Linked DNA regions of Homo sapiens: all the other regions are linked to region 2. The links are contacts of gene promoters, found by promoter capture Hi-C in human tissues and cell types (Jung and others, 2019). All regions are on one chromosome and are shown on one strand. The core of a region is centred on a gene start or on the middle of the fragment in contact, and the rest is flanking DNA. Distances in the headings are between cores, read along the strand shown. Region 1 overlaps CBFA2T2 (CBFA2/RUNX1 partner transcriptional co-repressor 2). Region 2 holds the start of ACTL10 (actin like 10). Region 3 overlaps ZNF341 (zinc finger protein 341). Region 4 overlaps CBFA2T2 (CBFA2/RUNX1 partner transcriptional co-repressor 2).

Region 1 (2,779 bases), core at 205-2,704, 95 kb after region 2:
TGGTCTTGCTGCTTCCAGCCATGCCCTATAAAATTCTTTCTCTATATGACAGGAAGAATGATCTTTATACAATATAAATCAGATCACATTACTGCCCCAACTATTCAATGGTTACCCATCACTCAGAATGAAATCCAAATTCATTGGATTACAAAGCTTTATGCTGGCTTTAAAAGCTCTACATGAACTTCTGTCTCCTGTCTCTCTACCCTCTTCTCTTCGTCCACTACATTATATCTACATCGGCCATTTTTCTATTCTTTGAACATACTGAGTTCATTCCCATCATTGAGCCTTTGCACTGGAATATTCTTATCACTGACATCCACCGACTATTTCATTATTGTTATTCAGCACACAGCTCAATTTACTTCTTCAGAGAGTCCTAAATTAACACTTAATTTCATATACATATTTTTTTGTTAATGGGCTCAGTACTTTCTTTTATTCAAATTTAGAAACATTTTTATTTGCAAGACTATTCAAATAATTCTGTTAATATCATTTAGCTAAATTCACCAATTAATTCATCCATTTATAAAAATCACTTTCTTTTTCTCTATCTACCTATATTTTTATCTAAACCACTTGAGAGCAAGCTGGAAACATTACACTCCCTTATGCTTAAATATTTCAGTGTGTAAATGCTAAGAGTTAGGATGTTTACTTATAAGCCCAGTATAATTACCAAAATTATTAACATTAATACCCTACCACCATCTTTACAGATATTATTCTAAAATTTATGAGGGACTTCCTCATATAAACAAGGTTGGCAGATCACCTGAAGTCAGGAGTTCAAGACCAGCCTGGCCAACATGGCAAAACCCCGTCTCTAGTAACAATGCAAAAATTAGCCAGGCCCGTGGTGGCAGGCGCCTGTAGTCCCAGCTACTCTGGAGGCTGAGGCAGCAGAATCGTTTGAACCTGGGAGGCGGAGGTTATGGTGAGCCGGGATTGTGCCACTGCACTCCAGCCTGGGCGACAGAGCGAGACTCCATCTCAAAAACCAAACAAACCAAACAAACAAACAAAACACAAGAAAAGAAATCACCACTCCCAAGTGCTAATGGAAAATAACTGTCAACCTTTACACTCTAACCACATTTAACTATCATTCAAGTAAAGGTGAAATAAAGATATCTTCAGATCAGCAAAAAGAGTGTACTACTTACAGATTCTCCAAGAATTATTAACAGATACACTTGGCAGGAATGAATTATTAACCTAGAAGGAAAATTGTGATAAATATGCAAAGTGACCAGATAATTCAATAAATATATTGGTAAATCGAAATTAATAGCTTTAAAAATAATGGTAACTATTATTTTGGCTGGGAGTGTAACAAACAAAATGGAAACAAAATCCTAGACAGCGGTAATATATTGAAAAAGTTACTGAATTTGAAGTGTTCTAAGACTTCTGTACTTAAAGAAAAAAATGGATATATGAATTGACATTAGATTTTATGTCAAGTACACATTAAAATTTTAAAAGTAATCATCAAAATAAGGAAAACGAAACATCTATCTTTAAACTCACCCACTATTTTCACTTATTCAATTAAGAGTATCTATTGATTTGTGCGTACAAAATGTGAGAAAATAGAATAAAGTAGTACATTAAAATGAAACAAACCAAAAAAGTTGAAGAGCCTTAAACATTTTTACTGAAGTGTTTGAAACTGACTCCAAAAAACAACATAATTACCAAGACAAATCACCAATTCTCTGTCCCCCCTCCAGACCCACTTAAAAAGATTTGTTGTTAGAGATGGTTCCCTTGGATGGAAAGGCAGGGAAACACTTCAATTCATTCTCCAAGATAAAGATGGAAGTTAACATTTCTAGAAGGTCAGTCACACACACACCAAGTCTGTTGTCCTCCCTTACTTTAGACATGAAGAACAGAGCCAGGACTGGGGAAAGGTAAGTGAGAAGCCTGGGGCCCCGACAAAGCACTTGTGGTTATTTGCCATGCTTCTCTACTTGGGGAGACAGAAGCACAGTTTGCTTGTGGAAACCTCAGTTCACATTCACAGTGCAAGAAAACTTATTTCCAGTTTCATTGTGGCATTAGCCCTAGGAATGAGAGAGGACAACTTAATAAAATTAAAACAGATGAAAAGAAAATGAGTCTCACATTAGACTGCAAACTCCTTTTACTATTTAACTTTGTTTCTCAGTATGTACAATGACAGAATGAAAGAATCAGTAAGGCCACAGAAGGAAACCCCCATTCTTCCTAAGTACCAGAAAGAAGGGTTAACAGCACATGTACTCACCTCAAGACGACAATATCTATAGCAATACTGATCAACATTCCCAACATGTACTAGCTCCAAACTTCAAATCAAAGTACACTTAATTTGGAGTCAGAGAAGGCTCTGTTTCAAATCTCAACTCTTCCCCTTTACTGACTTCCCTACCTTTCAATTTCTCCACTGCTTAAAACGAAGGAGCAGATTAAAAAGCTCTGAAAAAAACTCTTCAAATACTACAACTCCTAACCTATTCTAAATATAATCACATTGCTCTACCTAGAGGCTTGCCTTCATAGGAGCTGTCACGTAAAATGTTGGCTGCCAGGGGCTTTTCAAATTCTAGTATCTTTTTTTGTTTGTTTGTTTTTGAGATGGAGTCTCGCTCTTGTCACCCAGGCTGGAGTGCAGTGGCATGATCTCGGCTCCCTGCAAACTCTGCCTCCTGGGTTCAAGTGATTCTCCTGCCTCAGCCTCCCCAGTAGCTGGGATTACAGGCATGTGCCACCACACCTGGCT
Region 2 (2,700 bases), core at 149-2,648:
AGTCAGCTCCAACCTCCAGGAGGACCCTGCCAGCTCCAAACACTTGACTCTTTAGATAGAGAGCTGTCCCCCAACGCAGTGCCACCCCCCCCAGTCCAGCCTGACTCAGTTGAACACATCGTACAGCAGCCTGGAGCCACACTCCTGGTACATGGCCCGAGTTATCCAGCGGCGCTGGAAGGAGTGCAGGGAGGCCACCATGGAGCCGCCGGTCCACACAGCCATGCCACGCCCATGCTTGGCCACCAGGTGGGGCCGCAGGGCCGCGTAGCCGTGCCGCCGGCACTGCGCCTCCAGCTCCTTGTCCAGGCGCTCGGCGAAGCCAGGAAACAGTGTGGAGCCGCCGGCTAGCACCACGGTGTCTGCCAGGCGTGTCCGCAGCGTTTTGGGCATCTTCTGCAGCGCCCGGAAGGCCAGCGCGGGCAGCCCCTGCTCAGCCTGGCCCAGCAGGCCCGGCTGGAAGATGGGTTCGGGGCAGCGGAAGCGCTCACTGCTGAGGCAGACGCAGCACCCGTTACCCACGCTGAAACTGGCCGGATGGTGGCGGGCGGGGTCGCGGAGGTCGCCCTCGAAGTCCAGGGACACGTAGCAGCTGCGCTTCTTGAGATGTGTGATGGCCTTGCGGGGCAGGGCCTGCTGCAAGAGGTCAGGGTTCGCCGCCACCAGCAGATCCCGCAGGTAGCGCGACAGGGTGCTGCCTGCCACGTTCAGTCGGAAGGTGGCCTGGTGCCACGAGTGACCCGCGTAGATGGGCGTGGCGTGGCACACGCCCGCGCCCGCCTCCACGGCCAGCCCGCTGAACGCGCCGGTGGAGCAGAGCGCCAGCAACGCGGTGCTAGCCATGTGGCACGCGGGCACTGCCAGGGTCTCGAACAGCAGCTCCGCCACCCTTTCGCGGCCCGCGGGCGGCGCCAACGGCGAGTCGCTCACCAGCACGGGCCACTGCTCTGGGCACACCCGCAGGCCGCCCACCAGCAGGCGCTCCCACAGCCCTTCCAGCGCCTCCCAGTCCGCCACCACGCCGTGCTTGATGGGGTGCGCCCGCGCCACGCCGCCCGCCAGCTCGCAGCCCGGCGCTCCGGGCAGCACCGGCCGGTCCCAGCTGGGCACCAAGCTAGAGCTCTTCAGCACTATGCGCGGCTGGTTCTCGCCCGCGAAGCCCGCCTTGGTGAAGCCCGAGCCCTGGTCCACCACCACCGCGATGCGGCCCAGGGAGGACGGCCGGTGCACGCGGCGGCTCCCCGACACCGACGCCACCTTCGGGCTCGGCCCAGCCGCGGGGCTGAAGGCTCCGCTCCTCCGCGCCACTCGGCTTCGTCGGCCCGATACCTCCCGGCCTCTGTCCTAGGGAGTAGTCCCCTTCAGCCTTTGGCTCTGCCTCCGGAGCCTAAGTTCTTCCTCTTCTGGACCAAATCACCACCCTTTTCAGCTCTTGGCTCCGCCCTCTGGTCTGAAAGCCCCGCCTCTTCTGTCCGGGCCATCCGCCTCCTTTTCAGCTCGTGGCTAGTTCCTAGGCCTGAGGCCCGGCCCCTAGTTCAGGCTTCAGTCTCCGCTCTGGCTGGGTTCCAGCCGCATCTCACCCTCTTGGTCTCCCTCTGGCGCCGGGCTTCAGGCTCCACGCTCTCAGGACCCGCCTCTGCTTTGCTGTTCCGCCCCGTCAGCCCTTGCTGAGATGGCTGACGAGATGGCTAGGACTGATCCTTTTAGATCCTAAGAAGCCCCCGGGAGGAGCAGAACTTTGAGGGCGAAGGGGCCTTGTGGTAAGGCCATTTGGACATATATCCCCCTTGAGGACCCAGGCAGCCTCCTGGCACCTCTCACCTGGGCTTGACGGAAGTTCCTGGTTGTGGAGAGGGGAGGGGCTGGTCAGAAGGCAGAAAAGAACTTGGATTGGGCTCATTGTGACCTCACTCCCCAGCAGCTGCACTTCGCAGCTCCCTACCTTATGACAACTCCCTGGACCCATCCTCTCTTCTGGACAGAGCCAAGGGCAGTGATTTTGGCATCCAGGGGTCTGGCTTCAGCAGCCCAGCACAGTCTGATTCCTTTCCCAAACCACTTAGAATTATCTGATGTACTCTGTCCAGATGTGTGGCCCCCTACCCCTCCCAGTGCTGAAGAAAAAGCTTTTTCATCACAGATCTGCAGCTTCCCTGAAGAGCCCCCGAGAGGCTCTGGCCCTACCTTTATGGGCTTCCACGGATGGATTCACGTGGGCCTCAGTTTGAGACTCAGTTCTTTTTTTTATTATTATTATTTTTGAGACGGAGTCTCGGTCACCCAGGCTGGGCGTGCAGCGTTGCAATCTCAGCTCAGTGCAACCTCTGCCTTCCGAGTTCAAGTGATTCTCCTGCCTCAGCCTCCTGAGTAGCTGGGACTACAGGCATGCACCACCATACGCGGCTAATTTTTGTATTTTTAGTGGAGACAGGGTTTCGCCACGTTGGCCAGGCTGGTCTCGAACTCCTGACCTCAGGTGATCCACCTGCCTTGGACTCCCAAAGTGCTAGGATTACAGGTGTGAGCCACCGCACCCAGCAAGACTCAGTTCTGAAGCTGACTCACTGTGCAGTCCTAAGCAAGTCTTGATCTTTCTCTGGGTTCGGTTTTCTCCTCCAAAAGGTAGTAATAATCCCCCCACACAGGAAAGAGGTCACTTCTTGTCTCTGCAAAGCCTCATCCTCCTGAGGACCAGTTTGG
Region 3 (2,782 bases), core at 15-2,514, 120 kb before region 2:
ACCACAAGTTACACCCTGTTGGTGGTTATTTTAAGAATTAAAAATAGGCTGGGTGTGGTGGCTTGCATCTGTAATCCCAGCACTTTGAGAGGCCAAGGTGGGTGGGTAACCTGAGGCCAGGAGTTTGAGACCATCTTGGCCAACATGGTGAAACCCCGTCTCTACTGAAAATACAGAAATTAGCCAGGCATGTGGTGGGCGCCTGTAATCCCAGCTACTCGGGAGGCTGAGGCACGAGAATGGCTTGAACCTGGGAGGCGGAGGTTGTAGTGAGATCATACCATTGCACTCCAGCCTGGGTGACAGAGTGAGACCCTGTCTCAAAATAAAAATAAAAAATAAAAAAACTAAAATTGAAAAGGACAAAATAGAAAACACTGTTTTGTAAAACTTTTGTTGCAATACATCCTATGTGTGCTTCCTGGGTTGCAATATGAAATGTATTTTTTACCATAGGTCGTAGGAAAGAAAAAAAAGGAAAAACATTGGATTGTCCATCTGAAGTGAGAGGGAGTTTATTTTTTTATATATGCTTTTGTCCCGTCAAGGATTTTCCCTCAAGTTTTCTCAATCTTTAGATCCTTTTCAATTAAAAAGCAATTAAAAAATTTAACTAATAAAAAAATCTAAAGATTAATAGAAAAGAAAATGTCAGTGTGTTTCAACTGGGGAACCAAGGAGATGGCGTTTTGTTCAGGTTTGAGTGGGAACTTACAGTGAGAGCAGTGTCCCCACCACAGGGGGCAGAGTCAAGAGTCCCTCACACAGGCTGGGTGCAGTGCCTCACGCCTGTCATCCCAGCACTTTGGGAGGCCGAGGCAGGAGGATCACCTGAGGTCAGGAGTTCGAAACCAGCCTGGCCAACATGGCAAAACCCTGTTTCTACTAAAAATACAAAAAACTAGCTGGACATGGTGGTGGGAGCCTGTAATCCCAGCTACTCAGGAGGCTGAGGCAGGAGAATCACTTGAACCCGGGAGGCAGAGGTTGCAGTGAGCCAAGATCTGCCACCGCACTCCAGCCTGGGCAACAAGAGCGAGACTTTGTCTCAAAGAAAAAAAAAAAAAGAATAAAAAGTCCCTTCCACACAACCTCCAGGGGCTCTTCTCTGCTTTAGCGGTGGTGGGAATCCCTTGTTCATGAATTAAGGCAGGTGGATCAGGGGCCAGGAAGGAGAGAGGAAGGAGGAGCAAGGGGAGAGGCAGGAGGGCTGGAGGGAGACAGACAGCGACAGAGAGGAGGGGGAGGGGGCTGGAGGGAGAGGGGAGAGGACAGGGGAGGGAGGCTGGAGGGGGCTAGAAGGAGATGGGGAGAGGGAGGGGAAGGGAGGCTAGAGGGAGATGGGAAGGAGGAGGGAGAAGGGGGCTGCAGGGAGATGGGGAAGAAGAGGGAGATGGGGAGGGTGAGGGAGATGGGGGGGAGAGAGATGGAGAGAGGGAGGGAGATGGGGGAGGGGGAAGGAGATGGGGAGAGGGAGGGAGGTGAGGAGGCGGAGGGAGGGGGGAGGGAGAGGAGTAGGGAGAGGGAGAGGGGAAAGGAAATGGGGAAGAGGAGGGAGAAGGGTGCTGGAGGGAGATGGGGAGGAGGAAGGAGATGGGGAGGAGGAGGGAGATGGGGAGGAGGAGGGAGACGGGGGCTGAGAGAGATGAGGGGAGGGACTGAGTGAGATGGGGAGGGAGATGGAGAAGTGGAGGGAAAAGGGGCTGAGGGAGACAGGGAGAAGAGCCAGATGGGGATGGGAAGAGAGAGAAAGGCATGAGGAGAGGGGGAGGGGGAGGGGAGGGGCTGGGCTGGAGTTCTCAGGGGCAGGGTACCTACCCGAGTGGATGTGAGCATGCAGTTTGAGATAATGCTCCCGCCGGAAGAACTTCTTGCACACTTGGCACTTGAACCTGCCCCCGCTGCCGTGGGTGGGCAGATGACGCCGCAGGTAGCGTTCACAAGGAAACACCTGGGAGAGAAGAGGGGCCTTCAGGTCTGACTCACCGGGCCCCCCTCCCCTGGCCATCTTCTGAACTCAAAGGTTCCTCGTTTCCAGCCCCTATAGAGACACCTTCCTTTCTGGCTATCAGGGGCCAGGACCCAGAATGTCAGACTCAGCCCTTAGAACTTCATGGCTCCCCACAAGCCCGGACAAAACATGTCTGCCCTGAGCTTTTGCCCGGATGTTCTTCCCACCCAGAGGGCCTTTCTCTCTTTACTGACAAACTCTTACACATCCTTCAAGACCCAACTCGGGCGTCACTGCTCCTGTCAAGCCTTCCCTAGCTCCCTGGTGCTATGCCTGGCAAAGCCAATTCTGCCTTTGAATGTCCACCCACACTTTTAAGTCAGCATTTAACCCACTGAATGACAGCCCTTTGCTTACACAGGAGCTCCAAGTAGGCAGAGAGGGGCTTTCACTCCCCAGCACAGAGCCTGGGTCAAATGACTGACAAGTAAAAGAATTAATGGAAAATGAGCAAATTACTAAAGAAATCTATGGAAAGGTAATTTTTTACTTTTATTTATTTTATTTTATTTTATTTGAGATGCAGTTTCGCTCATATTGTCCAGGCTGGAGTGCAATGGTGCAATCTTGGCTCACTGCAACCTCTGCCTCCCAGGTTCAAGCGATTCTCCTGCCTCAGCCTCCTGAGTAGCTGGGATTACAGGTGCCTGCCACCACTCCCGGCTAATTTTTATTTTTAGTAGAGACAGGGTTTCTCCATGTTGGTTAGGCTGGTCTCTAACTCCTGACCTCAGGTGATCCACCCGCCTCAGCCTCCCGAAGTGCTGGGAT
Region 4 (2,700 bases), core at 105-2,604, 67 kb after region 2:
AAGATCAGCCTGGCCAACAGGGTGAAACCCTGTCTCTACTAAAAATACAAAAATGAGTTGGGCGTGGTGGCACACACCTGTAATCCCAGCTACTCAGGAGGCTGAGGCAGGAGAACCGCTTGAACACGAGAGGCAGAGGCTGCAATAAGCCAAGACCGCACCACTGCACTCCAGTCTGGGCGACAGAGCGAGACTCTGTCTAAAAACAAACAAACAAAAAACAACAACAACAATAAAAAACCCACAAAAAAAACAAAAATCAGACTCTCAGGCTGGGCGTGGGTGGCTCCTGCCTGTAATCCCAAGACTTTGGGAGACTGAGGTGGGCGGATTAGACTAACAGAAGGGAGCGGGGAGGCTTATCATTTTAGGCCATGAAGTTCTGACATGGTTTGTTATGCAGGAATAGACAACTAATCTACACCACATACAAATTATAATGTTCCTTTTTTTTTTTGGTTCTATTATTGTGTTTTATAATATCACAATATGTCCTGGAATTCTTAATTCCACAATTTTAAAAAACAATATGATAATACACTTTGAGGAGGTACCATAGTTCATTTAAACAATCCCTTGTCAATGAACAATTGGATTATTTCCAATAATTTGGTCCTGGATTTTGAGGATCCAGATCCCAATCTACTTGACTGTCCTGGATTTGCCAGGCCTTAGGGAAGTTCAGAGATGAAGGTAGGGAGGGACCTCACTTATGGGAAAGACAGACATACAGTACTGGGAAAATAAAGAAATAGAAACATTACCATGTACGACGGCCAGGCAAGTCTTAACACAATGTTAAGGTGTTTGCTGGAAAGGCTACATGGGCTCTCCAGGTAGCACATGGGATATAGTTTGAATAGTGCCCCCAAGAGGTGGTATCACAGCTGAAGGAAAAATCAGGGAAAAGATTTCCTGGACCATAGCCTCTCTTCAATCACTGCCAAGCATAGGTAAATGTTCTGAATGTGTAATTGTCATATGGTAAGAATTTCCAGGCCGGGTGCAGTGGCTCATACCTGTAATCCCAGCACGTTGGGAGGCCAATGCAGGCAGATCACCTGAGGTCAGGAGTTCAAGACGAGCCTGGCCAACATGGTGAAACCCCATCTCTACTAAACAAAAATTAGCTGGGCATGGTGGCAGGCGTCTGTAATCCCAGCTGCTCAGGAGGCTGAGGCAGAAGAACTGCTTGAACCCAGGAGGTGGAGGTTGCAGTTAGTTGAGATGGTGCCACTGCACTCCAGCCTGGAAAACAGCAAGACTCCATCACAAAAAAAAAAAAAAAAAAAAAAAAAAAAACTTTCCAAAAGTGATAATTCTAACTTGCTAAAGATGGAGGAAGAAACATCAAAATTACTGTTACATTTATAGCCTTATAAAGTTGGCTAAACTGATTATGGACATAGTACATGCTTAAGGATGAGCATTTACCATCTTTGTAACTCTGCCACAAATCTGACAACACATCCAACTTCCTAATAACACGCAGGCTTCATATGCCGAGATGGCCAGAAACAACTGTTTATAATGACAAACAATTTATCATTCAACAAAAATGGAGACATAAGGACTCAAAGAAATTACCAGAGGCTGGGCACAGTGGCTCACGCCTGTAATCCCAGCACTTTGGGAGGTTGAGGTGGGTGGATCACCTGAGGTCAGGAGTTCAAGACCAGCCTGGCCAACATGGTGAAACCCCGTTTCTACTAAAAATACAAAAAATTAGCCAGGCATGGTGGTGGGCACCTGTAAACCCAGCTACTCAGGAGGCTATGGCTGGCAGAAGAATCACTTGAACCTGGGAGGTGGAGGTTGCGGTGAGCCAAGATCATGCCATTCATTGCACTACAGCCTGGGCAACAGAGTAAGGCTCCGTCTCAAAAAAAAAAAAAAGGGAAATTACCAGAAAGTATTTTACAAGGACCTTTGAAGATAGAAGATGGAGCACAATTAAAACAAAATCAATACTTTAACATGTACCAACACTGATAGAAAAAATAAATTTTTTACATTCCATGTTTATACATATACTGGAAAATTAATTTATCATTATTATAGCTCAGGAATCAGGAAACTTTTCCTGCCAAAGGCAAGACAGTAAATATTTTTTTGCTCTATTGTAGCACACTATAGACAATATACAAATAAATGGGCTTGGCTGTGTTGTAATCAATCTTTATTCACAAAAATGGACAGTGGGCCACAGGTTTTTTTTTTCTCTTGAGACAGAGTCTCACTGTCGCCCAGGCTGTATTGCAGTGGCGCCATCTCTGTTCACTGCAACCTCCGCCTCCTGGGTTCAAGCAATTCTCCTGCCTCAGCTTCCCAAGTAGCTGGGACTACAGGCACATGCCACTGAGCCCAGCTAATTTTTTTGTATTTTAGTAGAGATGGAGTTTCACCCTGCTGCCCAGGCTGGTCTCGAACTCCTGAGCTCAGGCAATCCACCTGCCTCGGCCTCCCAAAGTGCTGGGATTACAGGCGTAAGCCACCATGCCTGGCCGACAGTGGGCCACAGTTTACTGACTTCTGCTATAACTGATTAAAAAGCTGGAAAACCAGCCTGGGCAATGAAGTGAGACTGCTGCGGGAAGTCAGGGACCCCAAACGGAGGGACCGGCTGAAGCCATGGCAGAAGAAGGTGGATTGTGAAGATTTCATGGACATTTATTAGTTCCCCAAATTAATACTTTTATT

The links. Contacts are between HindIII fragments. The study calls those that stand out against the background at their distance.
Region 1: a contact is called between a fragment that was not itself captured here and the fragment with the promoter of ACTL10 in region 2, in 3 of the 25 tissues and cell types used here (dorsolateral prefrontal cortex, hippocampus and lymphoblastoid cells).
Region 3: a fragment that was not itself captured here is called in contact with the fragment with the promoter of ACTL10 in region 2 in 2 of the 25 tissues and cell types used here (H1 embryonic stem cells and lymphoblastoid cells).
Region 4: a fragment that was not itself captured here is called in contact with the fragment with the promoter of ACTL10 in region 2 in 2 of the 25 tissues and cell types used here (mesendoderm cells and neural progenitor cells).

The regions. Positions count from the first base shown.
Region 1 is chr20:33,570,134-33,572,912 of GRCh38, reverse strand. The region is part of intron 1 of CBFA2T2 (CBFA2/RUNX1 partner transcriptional co-repressor 2); the gene reads right to left. Among named protein-coding and RNA genes, the nearest start is that of CBFA2T2, 81 kb to the right of the region's middle. The HindIII fragment of the contact is 4,062 bases long and covers 1-2,779 here.
Region 2 is chr20:33,665,641-33,668,340 of GRCh38, reverse strand. It overlaps ACTL10 (actin like 10), which reads right to left and starts at 1,398. Exons shown (of 1, transcript NM_001024675.2): 1 at 1-1,398. The coding sequence starts at 843. The coding sequence ends at 106. The region is part of intron 5 of NECAB3 (N-terminal EF-hand calcium binding protein 3); the gene reads left to right. RefSeq lists enhancers at 596-675, 1,486-1,705 and a silencer at 1,026-1,355. The HindIII fragment of the contact is 10,203 bases long and covers 1-2,700 here.
Region 3 is chr20:33,782,901-33,785,682 of GRCh38, reverse strand. It overlaps ZNF341 (zinc finger protein 341), which reads right to left. Exons shown (of 15, transcript NM_001282933.2): 12 at 1,819-1,951. Among named protein-coding and RNA genes, the nearest start is that of ZNF341-AS1, 27 kb to the left of the region's middle. RefSeq lists a silencer at 1-6. The HindIII fragment of the contact is 4,090 bases long and covers 1-2,782 here.
Region 4 is chr20:33,598,785-33,601,484 of GRCh38, reverse strand. The region is part of intron 1 of CBFA2T2 (CBFA2/RUNX1 partner transcriptional co-repressor 2); the gene reads right to left. Among named protein-coding and RNA genes, the nearest start is that of C20orf144, 62 kb to the left of the region's middle. The HindIII fragment of the contact is 9,711 bases long and covers 1-2,700 here.